Linked DNA regions of Homo sapiens: regions 1 and 2 are each linked to region 3. Evidence: promoter capture Hi-C in human tissues and cell types (Jung and others, 2019). All regions are on one chromosome and are shown on one strand. The core of a region is centred on a gene start or on the middle of the fragment in contact, and the rest is flanking DNA. Distances in the headings are between cores, read along the strand shown.

Evidence for each region. The method cuts DNA at HindIII sites, captures the fragments that hold promoters and counts their contacts. A contact is called where the count stands out against the background at its distance.
Region 1: a fragment that was not itself captured here is called in contact with the fragment with the promoter of SLC6A18 in region 3 in 4 of the 25 tissues and cell types used here (H1 embryonic stem cells, dorsolateral prefrontal cortex, liver and 1 more).
Region 2: a contact is called between a fragment that was not itself captured here and the fragment with the promoter of SLC6A18 in region 3, in 4 of the 25 tissues and cell types used here (IMR-90 fibroblasts, heart left ventricle, neural progenitor cells and 1 more).

What each region holds. Positions count from the first base shown.
Region 1 is chr5:1,579,318-1,582,887 of GRCh38, reverse strand. It overlaps the pseudogene SDHAP3. Among named protein-coding and RNA genes, the nearest start is that of LPCAT1, 57 kb to the right of the region's middle. The HindIII fragment of the contact is 4,730 bases long and covers 1-3,570 here.
Region 2 is chr5:963,826-967,314 of GRCh38, reverse strand. LOC124900931 (a long non-coding RNA gene) reads left to right here and starts at 3,154. Exons shown (of 2, transcript XR_007058676.1): 1 at 3,154-3,216. RefSeq lists an enhancer at 1,478-1,979. The HindIII fragment of the contact is 5,091 bases long and covers 1-3,489 here.
Region 3 is chr5:1,223,825-1,227,330 of GRCh38, reverse strand. SLC6A18 (solute carrier family 6 member 18) reads right to left here and starts at 1,950. Exons shown (of 12, transcript NM_182632.3): 1 at 1,694-1,950. The coding sequence starts at 1,853. It overlaps SLC6A19 (solute carrier family 6 member 19), which reads right to left. Exons shown (of 12, transcript NM_001003841.3): 12 at 2,220-3,506. RefSeq lists an enhancer at 1,014-1,556. The HindIII fragment of the contact is 11,488 bases long and covers 1-3,506 here.

The DNA of each region.
Region 1 (3,570 bases), core at 669-3,168, 360 kb before region 3:
TGGCCAATTCAACCTGCTCAATTTAACATAGTTGGAGTTGGTAAAGCCCCTGAAGTATATCAAAGTAGTTATATTTCCATTGTGAAGGGTCCAATGGACAACCTGGGACTATTCAACCAATTATAACTTCTGTACCTATAAATTTATGGGGAAGAGATTTATTACAACAATGGGGAGCACAAGTTCTAATTCCAGAGCAATTATATAGCCCTCAAAGTCAGCATATGATGCATGAAATGGGGTATGTCCCTGGTATGGGACTAGGAAAAAATTTGCAAGGTTTGAAAGAACCACTTCAAGTGGAAAGACAGTTCCTGCCAAGGTTTAGGATATTATTCTTGATGGCAGCCATTGTTAAGCTTCCAGAACCTATACCTTTAAAATGGTTAACATATAAGCCAATTTGGATGGAACAATGGCCGCTGAGTAAAGAGAAACTGGAGGCTTTAGAGGACTTAGTTAATGAACAATTAGAAAAGGGACACATAGCTCCAACATTTTCCCCTTGGAATTCTTCAATTTTCGTAATTAAGAAAAAATCAGGTAAATGGAGAATGTTAACTGACTTAAGAGCCATTAATTCAGTTATACAACCTATGGGGACATTACAGCCAGGATTGCCTTCTCCTGCTATGATTCCAAAAAATTGGCCTTTAATAGTCATAGATTTAAAAGACTGTTTCTTTACTATCCCCTTAGCTGAGCAAGACTGTGAACGGTTTGCATTTACAATTCCTGCAGTAAACAACCTGCAGCCTGCTAAGCGTTTTCATTGGAAAGTGTTGCCACAAGGCACGTTAAACAGTCCAACGATTTGCCGGATTTGTGTAGGGCAAGCAATTGAACCTCCTCGTAAAACATTTTCACTGTGTTACATTATTCATTATATGAATGATATACTTTGTGCTGCCCCTACTCAAGAAATATTACTCCAGTGTTATGATCACTTGCAAAATTCAATTTCTGGTGCTGGTTAAATTATAGCTCCTGACAAAATTCAGATTACTACTCCTTACTCCTACTTGGGAACCTTAGTAAATGACACTACCATTGTGCCACAGAAAGTAGCCATACGTAGGGATCAATTGAAAACATTAAATGACTTTCAAAAATTACTAGGGGACATTAACTGGATACAACCTGCTCTAGGCATTCCTACCTATGCCATGAGTAATCTGTTTTCTATCCTTAGAGGAGATCCTAGTCTCACCAGCCCTCGGTAATTAACAAGAGAAGCTGAGGCAGAGCTGCAGCTAATCGAAAAGCAAGTCCATAAAGCCCAAATAAATAGAATCGATCCAGAGAAGACTCGAGCTGCAGCTGATCGAAAAGCAAGGCCATAAAGCCCAAATAAATAGAAACGATCCAGAGAAGACTCGAGCTGCAGCTGATCGAAAAGCAAGGCCATAAAGCCCAAATAAATAGAAATGATCCAGAGAAGACTCGAGCTGCATCTCATCAAAAAGCAAGGACATAAAGCCCAAATCAATAGAATCGATGCAGAGAAGACTCAAGCTGCAGCTGATCAAAAAGCAAGGCCATAAAGCCCAAATAAATAGAATCGATCCAGAGAAGACTTGAGCTGCAGCTGATCGAAAAGCAAGGCCATAAAGCCCAAATCAATAGAATCGATCCAGAGAAGACTCGAGCTGCAGCTCATTGAAAAGCAAGGCCATAAAGCTCAAATCAATAGAATCGATCCAGAGAAGACTCGAGCTGCAGCTGATCGAAAAACAAGGCCATAAAGCCCAAATAAATAGAATAGATCCAGAGAAGACTCGAGCTGCAGCTGATCAAAAAGCAAGGCCATAAAGCCCAAATAAATGGAATAGATCCAGAGAAGACTCGAGCTGCAGCTGATCGAAAAGCAAGGCCATAAAACTCAAATCAATAGAATAGATGCAGAGAAAACTCGAGCTGCAGCTGATCAAAAAGCAAGGCCATAAAGCCCAAATGAATAGAATTGATCCAGAGAAGACTCGAGCTGCAGCTGATTGAAAAGCAAGGCCATAAAGCCCAAATCAATAGAATAGATCCAGAGAAGACTCGAGATGCAGCTGATCTAAAAGCAAGTCCATAAAGCCCAAATAAATAGAATAGATCCAGAGAAGACTCTAGATTTGCTAATTTTTCCAACTCCACATTCAGCTACTGGTGTTATTGTTCAAGAGCAAGATCTTGTAGAATGGCTTTTTCTTCCACATACTAATTCATGGCCTCTAACTCCTTATTTGGATCAAATTGCTACTATGATAGGAAATGGGAGAACTCGGATTGTTAAATTACATGGATATGATCCTGAAAAAATTGTCCCTCTCACGAAGGCACAAATACAGCAAGATTTTATAAATAGTCTTACTTGGCAAACCCATTTAGCTGACTTTTTGGGTATTCTCGATAATCATTTTCCTAAAATGAAACTGTTTCAATTTTTGAAATTAACTAATTGTATTCTCCCTAAAATAACTAAACCAATTGAACGTGTGGAGAATGTTTTTACAGATGGGTCTAGTAATGGTAAAGCTTCTTACTCTGGCTCGAAAGGTAAAGTTTTCCAGACACCCTATGCTTCAGCTCAAAAAACGGAGCTTGTAGCTGTAATTGAGGTATTGACTGCTTTTAATATGCCTATTAATGTGATTTCTGATTCTTCATATGTGGTTCATTCGACACAATTAATTGAAAATGCTGAGTTACGATTTCATACAGATGAACAACTGATGACTTTATTTATGCAATTGCAAACAGCAGTTAGGAGTAGAATGCACCCTTTTTACATCACTCACATTAGGGCTCATACACCTCTTCCAGGACCTTTGACTGCAGGGAATCAAATGGCTGATCGCCTAGTTGCTACTGCAATATCTAATGCTGGACACTTTCACAATTTAACCCGTGTTAATACCTCTGGTCTCAAACGCAGATACAGCAGTACCTGGAAAGAAGCTAAAGCTATTATCCAGCGATGCCCAACTTGCCAAATGGTACATTCCTCATCTTTTACAGGAGGAGTTAATCCTCGAGGATTGGAACCTAATTCTCAAGCTCTAGCTAAATTTTTCTCTATACGGAATATTAAACACATTACTGATATCCCATATAATTCTGAAGGACAAGCCATAGTGGAAAGAATGAATCTCTCCCTGAAACAGCAGTTGCAGAAGCAAAAGGGGGAAAACAGGTACTACAGGACACCCCATAAGCAATTGAATCGCATTATTAACTTTAAATTTTTTGAGCCTGCCTAAAGGCCGGATCTTATCAGCAGCTGAACAGCATCTACAGAAACCAGCTGCAAAGACAGAAGCAGAACAACTGGTTTGGTGGAGAGACCTGATAACAGAAAGTTGGGAAATAGGTAAAATAATAACTTGGGGTAGAGGTTATGCTTATGTTTCTCCAGGACTGAACCATCAAGACACCTGAAACCTTATCATGAGCGAATGCTGAGGAAGAGATTCCGGGAGGATCCCGAGGACCCCCCCAGTTGCAGCCATGTCAAGACTGATGCTGAGGAGGACCCCAACTGTCACGAGCAACACCCGTCAAACACAGCCATCCACCTGAGGT
Region 2 (3,489 bases), core at 960-3,459, 260 kb after region 3:
AATGATGGATTCCAGGGCTGGGGGAAAAACCGGGGCAGCCTGGGGTTATGCTGGAAAGCGAGAAAGTGCTCCCGAAGGATGGGAGGGTCCCAAGGGCCCGCCTGGAAAAGCCCAGTGGCCAGAGCTGGGTAAATTTTAGCAACTAAGTAAATAATGACAGTGTGGGATGATCATCCAAAGCATAAATATGCACAAGTCCACATGAAGGCACACGAGTGATTGAATAAATCAGTGAGGGGAGGGCGGTCCTTCCTTCAGAGGAATTCCAGCAGAGTAGTGAGGAAACAAATCATCTCAGAACACCACAGTAGTAATTGTTGCAGACAAAACCCACCAACCCATGCTAAAATTAGCAGAAAAGACTTTGAGGAGAAATAGGATACTCTTGTAGTCTCAAAGTATCTTCCCTGAGAGGCCAAGGCAGGTAGATCATCTGAGCTCAGGAGTTTGAGAGAAGCTTGGGCAACACGGTGAAATCCTGTCTCTAAAAAAATACAAAAATTACCTGGGCGCAGTGGCACACACCTGTAGTCCCAGCTACTTGGGAGGCTGAGCGAGTGGATTGCTTGAGCCCGGGAGGTAGAGGTTGCCGTGAGCTAAAATTGCACGACCGCACTCCAGCCTGAGGGACAGAGAGAGACCCCATCTCAAAATAAGTAAATACAAATAAATAAATTACAAATGAAGAATAGTAACGTTACAGTGGGGGAAGCCAGCAGATCCCACCAGAACCAGGTGACCAGGGCCAAAACAACCCATAATGAGGCAAAGCATAGGGCCCGTGAGTCACTACTGCGGACGCTGAGCAGGGTATGGGGCTTCTGCCAGTTTCTTGGCACAGACACATAACTTCGATCCAGACATGATAAAATAGCAAACTCAAACTGAGGGCTGTTCTTCAAAACACCCAGCCAGTGCTCTTCCAAGTGGCAAGGCCATGGGAGGCAAGGAAACACGGGGCCTGCCGTGGGCTGGAGCCTACAGCGAGATGACACCTGCGTGCTCATGGAACTCAGTGTTGTTTCTAAAGCAGGAGGTGGATGTTACCAGAAACTGGAGGAATCTGAATCAAGCTACTGTGTAGTTAATTGCCCCGTGTTAATTCTTAGCCTCAATCCTTGTGGTCAAGGTCGGGTATGCAAGGTGCTGACACGGGAGGAAGCTGCCTGAAGGGGGCGGGGACTCCTGGACGATCTTGGCAACTCTTCCATAAGTCTAACGTTATTTCAGAAAAAAAAGTGTAGTGACATAGCTTAACAAAAAATAAGTGTAAAAAAGCTGAAAAGCAACAGTTAATCCTACGTGAGAGACAACGATGGTTGACTTTCTATACTTGGTGTTTCCCCAAGAAAGAAGCCCCTGGATGCCAGGGTCCCTCCCACTCTACACGTCAGCACGAGGCCGCGGTTCGCTCCCATCATCCGGTTCTAGATGTCAGCACGAGGCCGCGGCTCGCACCTGTCATCTGGGAGTTTCTCCCTCCCCTCCTGCCCACAGGACAACTTCTACTTCTCCTTTGGAATTTCTGAACACAGGAGGCCCTTCTCGGAAGCTCAGCTCTGCCTTCGCCCGCCAGGGCTGTTTCTCCCCTCGAGCCTCTGTCTCCACACCTGTGAAACGGGACGATAAGGGCCCCTTCATGGTGCGGAGGGAGGGCTAAGTTCATAAACGCGTGCAAACGAGGTGAGGACTGGCCGGCACGTAGAGACCCCGTGATGGCTGTCGGCCACCAAACAGACATTCTCCGTGCTCTTCATGCTCTTGCTTATGAGGAGAGATGCTGTGAAGATAAGTTTAAAAACGGCCATGCCATGACAGTTCACAAATAATATTATTCCCTCTGCGAATGCCCTTACCTTCTCTGATGACACTTGTTTCCTATCAACATCGATTTCTGTTGGCTTTCATGCCACCCTCTCTGAATGAGAATTGGGAAGACTCCAATGGCTGTTTTTAACCCCATATTTTTCTGTTCTGTAAACTTCTGTTCATTGCCAGGCTTTGTATCTTCCTTCTTTTAAAAGCGAAAGTGTCCTTTCTCTTCTTGTTTGGAACCTAGAATTGTGTATCGATGCATTTTTGGTGATTTCCCAATAACTAGCTGTGATCCTGCTCCACAGAGCCCTAATGCTTGAGCTCAAACTGTCCGAACCCACACTGCACTCCTTGGAGAAAATGAATGCAGCCTGAATTCTGCTGCTGAGAGTGCCTGGCCGTCCTGGTGGTCACTGACTCACTGGGGTCTGGCCGTCCTGGCAGCTCCTCAGGTCACCGGACTCTGGGGAGGCACCGTGCTGGTTCTGCCTGTGCCTGGTGGGACCCCCTGGTTCCCGGCACTGTCTGGGCCTCGTTCTGAGAGATGACTCCTTCTCACCATTGGTCACCAGACCTGGGCCCTCGGCCACTCGTGGCGTGGCTGAGATTTCAGGTCTCAGAGGACTGTCACCCCCTTCCTCCTATTCAATTTCTGCATGAAGTCTCTAAATCAATAACAGAGAAGGGGAGAGGAAAAAGGAAAGAAAAACTCCCACCTAATGGCCATTTTCAGAGCAGCCGCAGAACCATGTGACACAGCTGACCGAGGCAGCATTGCAGATACATTTGTGTGCCTGCAGATCTCAGGTACACGGACCCGTCTCCATGCTCAGGGGGCCTCTAAAGGGGGTGCAGGCTTTGGGGGCAGAGCAGAGGGGTGTAGGACTCTGGGGAGGCCACGACCACTGAGGGAAGGACCTTGCTATCTCACAAGGCCGAATCCTCCCCAAGGTGGCTGCCGTCTCCCTGGACCCTGCGTTCTGCACCCCCGGGAGGTAGGGAGTTGGATCTCGTACCAACGATGAATGCGTGGACACGTGTGGATGCCGTCCGCTTCCCAGAGTCCCCAGCCGGGCTCCCCAGGGCTCTGCGGGACCCTCTTCCATGCACCTGTGCTGTTTGCTCTCAGGTGGCTGCAAGCAAGTCCCTTTTCTCAGCCAGGCAGGAGGGAGTGGAGGAAGGGCCTGTGTGTCTCCTCAGTTTCAAAGAAACTCCCACGGCAGAGCGTGCTCTTGAACTAAAGCTTGAATGAATCAGAAACATCTGGGCTGTTTTTTCTGTGCTTAAGATACAGGAAACAGACCCATCCAAAGCCGTTTGGGGTTTTATCAAGGGGTCATTTAAGATGCAGAGCAACTTGAAATCGCCCATCTGTTGGAGAGCCGTGCGTGCTGACAGAGGGTAAGAAACTACAGCCCGCGCAGCTGCGGTCTTCATGTGGTCGCTGCACGCAAGGGTTTGCCGTTATCTGTTGCTTCTGAAGGCAAGGGTGAGGGGAGCGGAACTGGGTGTTGCCTGGTTCTGCCGTCAGACCAGGCACTGGGGAGGGAGTCCTGTGGGGAGGTGGGGCCAGGCCTTGTCTCTGTGACAGTGAACGTCCCTGTCCATGTTGGTGTTTCTCAGACAAGCCACCTCCTTCCACCCCCACGGTGGTGCAAGGGGAGGCTTTAGTCC
Region 3 (3,506 bases), core at 701-3,200:
AGGGCTGTTCTCCCTCCTCAGCAGCACCCCAGGTGGGGGCCTCCCCAGCTTTGCCCCAGCGTGGAGCAGCTGAGTTTAAGGGAGGCTAGTGCCAGACACTTCCAGTACACTGCAGGCGCTTAGCAATGGTAACTGGGTTTCGGTGGGCAAGGCATCGGCGGGCAAGGCATCGGCGGGCAAGTCATCGGCGGGCAAGGCATCGACGGGCAAGGCGTCGGCGGGCAAGGCGTCGGCGGGCAAGGCGTCGGCGGGCAAGGGGTCGGCGGGCAAGGTGTCGGCGGGCAAGGCGTCGGCGGGCAAGGCGTTGGGCGCGTCGGCGGGCAAGGCATCGGTGGGCAAGGCATCGGTGGGCAAGGCGTCGGTGGGCAAGGCGTTGGGCAAGGCATCAGCAGGAAAGGCATCGGTGGGCAAGGCATTGGCGAACAAGGCGTTGGTGGGTAAAGCGTTGGCCGGCATTTCCAGCTCTGCGTGAAGCCTGCTGCCCCCACAACCTTGCATGCTCTGGTGACTCTTAGCAGATCGAGCCGCAGCACAGGCAGCGAGGGCCCCGGGAGCCAGGGACGCCTCTGCCCTTGGGCTTTGGTGCTTTCAGAAATGCCTTCAAAGGGACTCTCATGATGAGAAGATCCAAGGCCCAATGCACCCTCTCCAGCCCCAAAGCCCCAAAGAGACCCCAGTGCCCCGAGGGTGGCAGTGACGGGTGTTTCTTTTTGTTTTTTCCATTTGTGCGCATTTCCTGCATTTTCTGCCTGTTGAGAATCTTTTCTTAAGCAGGAGGAAAAACACTTTAAAGGAGTAACCTTATAACAAGGGATAGTTGTGCGGGGCTCTCAGGGAAGGAGCTGAGGGCCCGGGGAACAGGCTGACCAAGCAGCCCGGCCTGGCCTGAGGAGGACCCTGCGGCCTGGGAAGCCCCTGCCCGTGTTGCCTGGGGAAGACCTGGGTGTCCATGCGTGATGTTGTACGTCGGCTCCCTGAGAGCAGTGATTCATGCCTGTCCCTACATCCTGTGTCGCCACATGGAGAGCAGAGTGTGACCCCTGCATGAAGAGAAGCAGGCACAGGGTGAGGGGAGGCTCGAGGTGCGTGGGAGCCTATTTCAGTCACCAATGCACTTCTGGGGGTGGTGAGTCCAAGGTCACTAAAGTCACCCAGACAGTTCTGAACATCCTGGCACCCCCCACAGGGCTCTCCCAGAGAACCAAAGCCAGGGAGGCGAGGGGTGGGCCCCCAAATTCCTGCAAAGAACCTCGGAGAAGGGCACCTGAGCACATGTCTGGACACACCAAGGCTGTGGTGAGGAAACCCAGAGCGGATTGTGTGTTCTTTAAAGAACTGACGACATTCAGATGGAAGAGCGCTCACTGTTTGTAGGGTGTGTGTGTCGGGCAGGGCGGCCCATTCAACCTGACGCCTGGCAGGAAGCTGCCCTGAGGTCCCGGAAGACCATAGTGGACCCCGAGGGGACTGGATCCTCCGTGCTGTGGGCAGTGGTGAAGCTGCCCTGAGGTCCCAGAAGACTGCAGGTGGGCCCTGAGGGGACTGACTCTGCCGTGGGCAATGGTGCACCCTGGTTTCCAGGAGGAGTGACTCTGCCCAAGCACTGGGGATGCGTGGCAGGCGCCTGGCAGGTCAGGGTGGAGACGGCCTCCCCTGCTTAGGGGTCTGCCCCAGGACGCAGGTGGGTGCTTACCTCCTCCATAGGTCTGGCACAGGTATGGGAACCGCCAAATGTTCCCCAGTCCCACGGCAAACCCAGTGCAGCTCAGGAGGTACTGGGCCTTGTTGTCCCACTTGGGCCTCTCATCCCCGAGGTCGCAGGCGGCCGGGTCCGGTTCTGGGGCATGAGCCATGGTGACTGAGTGCCCCAGGCTTCAGGGCAAGGGTGGTGCCTCACTCCACACCCAGCACTAGAGAGCCGTCTCCAGCCTCTGCCGACGTTTGGAAACCACAAGCAGCCCCACTGCAGTTGTATTTATTCATTTCTTTAAAGGAAAACCAGTGGAGTGCCGTTAATGGGTAACTCAGGTCCAGGCCCTGGCTCTGACGCCAGGGTCCTTCCCTGGCACCCACGTCCTCTGCTCCTTCTCGCATGCTCTGTGTTCCAGGCAAACGCCGGGCCTGGCACCACCCCCAGCACCATGAGGACCGTTTGCAAGGACAGCCTCAAGTTTTTTTGTTGCAGACACCAGGATTCCCAAGACTGAGGCATATTTTAATCGTTTTAAATTTCTTATGTTTTATTTAACCATTTGATCTTGAGATACTTATAGATTGTCACTCTGTCACTGTCAGAAACAACTCAGATCAGATCGCATGCACCCGAAGCCCGGATTCCCGCAGGGATCCTCTCAGCTGCTCTTGGGAGGCCGGGGGCTGCCCTCACACCCACTGCTGCCCTCGGGCCGCTGGGCAGGACAGGGTGACAGGCACCCACCGTGCGTGGGGGCAGAGGGCTGAGTCCTCTCCTGTGCTGGGGGCACCCCTGTCCATGGGTGGAGGGTTGATGAGTTGACGCCGGGTGAGTTCAGCTCTAAGGAGCTCCCCACAGTGCTCCCTGGACTCTGGGGCTCCTCCTTGCAGATGCTCCCGCCACGGACAGGCCAAGGGCCCCCAGGCCCGCAATTGCCCCATTCCACTGGACACTGCACCCCTCAACCGTGTGGCCACAACTCCAAATCCATGAGTCCCAGGGCAGGGGCCCAGGTGGACACATTTTTGGAAGGTTCTTATTTGAGTGAGAGGAAGTGTGAGGGAAGAAGATGAGAAGAGCTGGTTGGTCCCCATTGTGAGGCCACAGGCCTGGGCCATGGCCTCTTCGGAGCAAGCCCCCAAAGCCAGACCCCCCAGGAGGAGGCAGGAGCTGGACCTGCCGTCCCCACCATCCCGTCTGAGGTCACTGGCTCACTCATCCCTCTACGTCTGGACAACAGTAACTTCTAGGGTGAGCATACTCAATAGAAGGGATTTATTTAGAAATGTACACTTTATGCCCATAAAGCCTGCATTTCTACCACATTTACAGAGACATTGAAACCTATGAAACAACGCATGAATCAGGAGATGTAGATGAGATGGGAGCTCCCGCCCAGGGTCCTATGGCAGGCACACCAGGGTACACCAATGGATGCCAGGGCACATCAGTGCACACCTGTGCATGCCAGGGTACACCAATGCACACCTGTGCACGCCTGGCAGGGCCTCCTGGGCAGATGCCACAGGGCAGCATATTAATGGGGCACTGATGGAAATTTTCTCGATCCAGGGCCAAAGAGCAGGAAAAGATGAGGTGAGACCCTGTTGAAGCCATCAGCAGGCGAGCCCCTCGGTGGCATCACAGCCGGGGGCAGAGGCTGTGATATGTCCCCCCACCTCTGCTGCTGTGGAGTCTTGCGCATCCCAGGGCCCAGTGACAGTCAGCAGGGTGAAAGGGGCTGGTAGGGGACTCAGTGTGTGCAGTCACTGCTGGATGGGGTGCTGGAAGGGACGATTGTGACCAGGTTTCT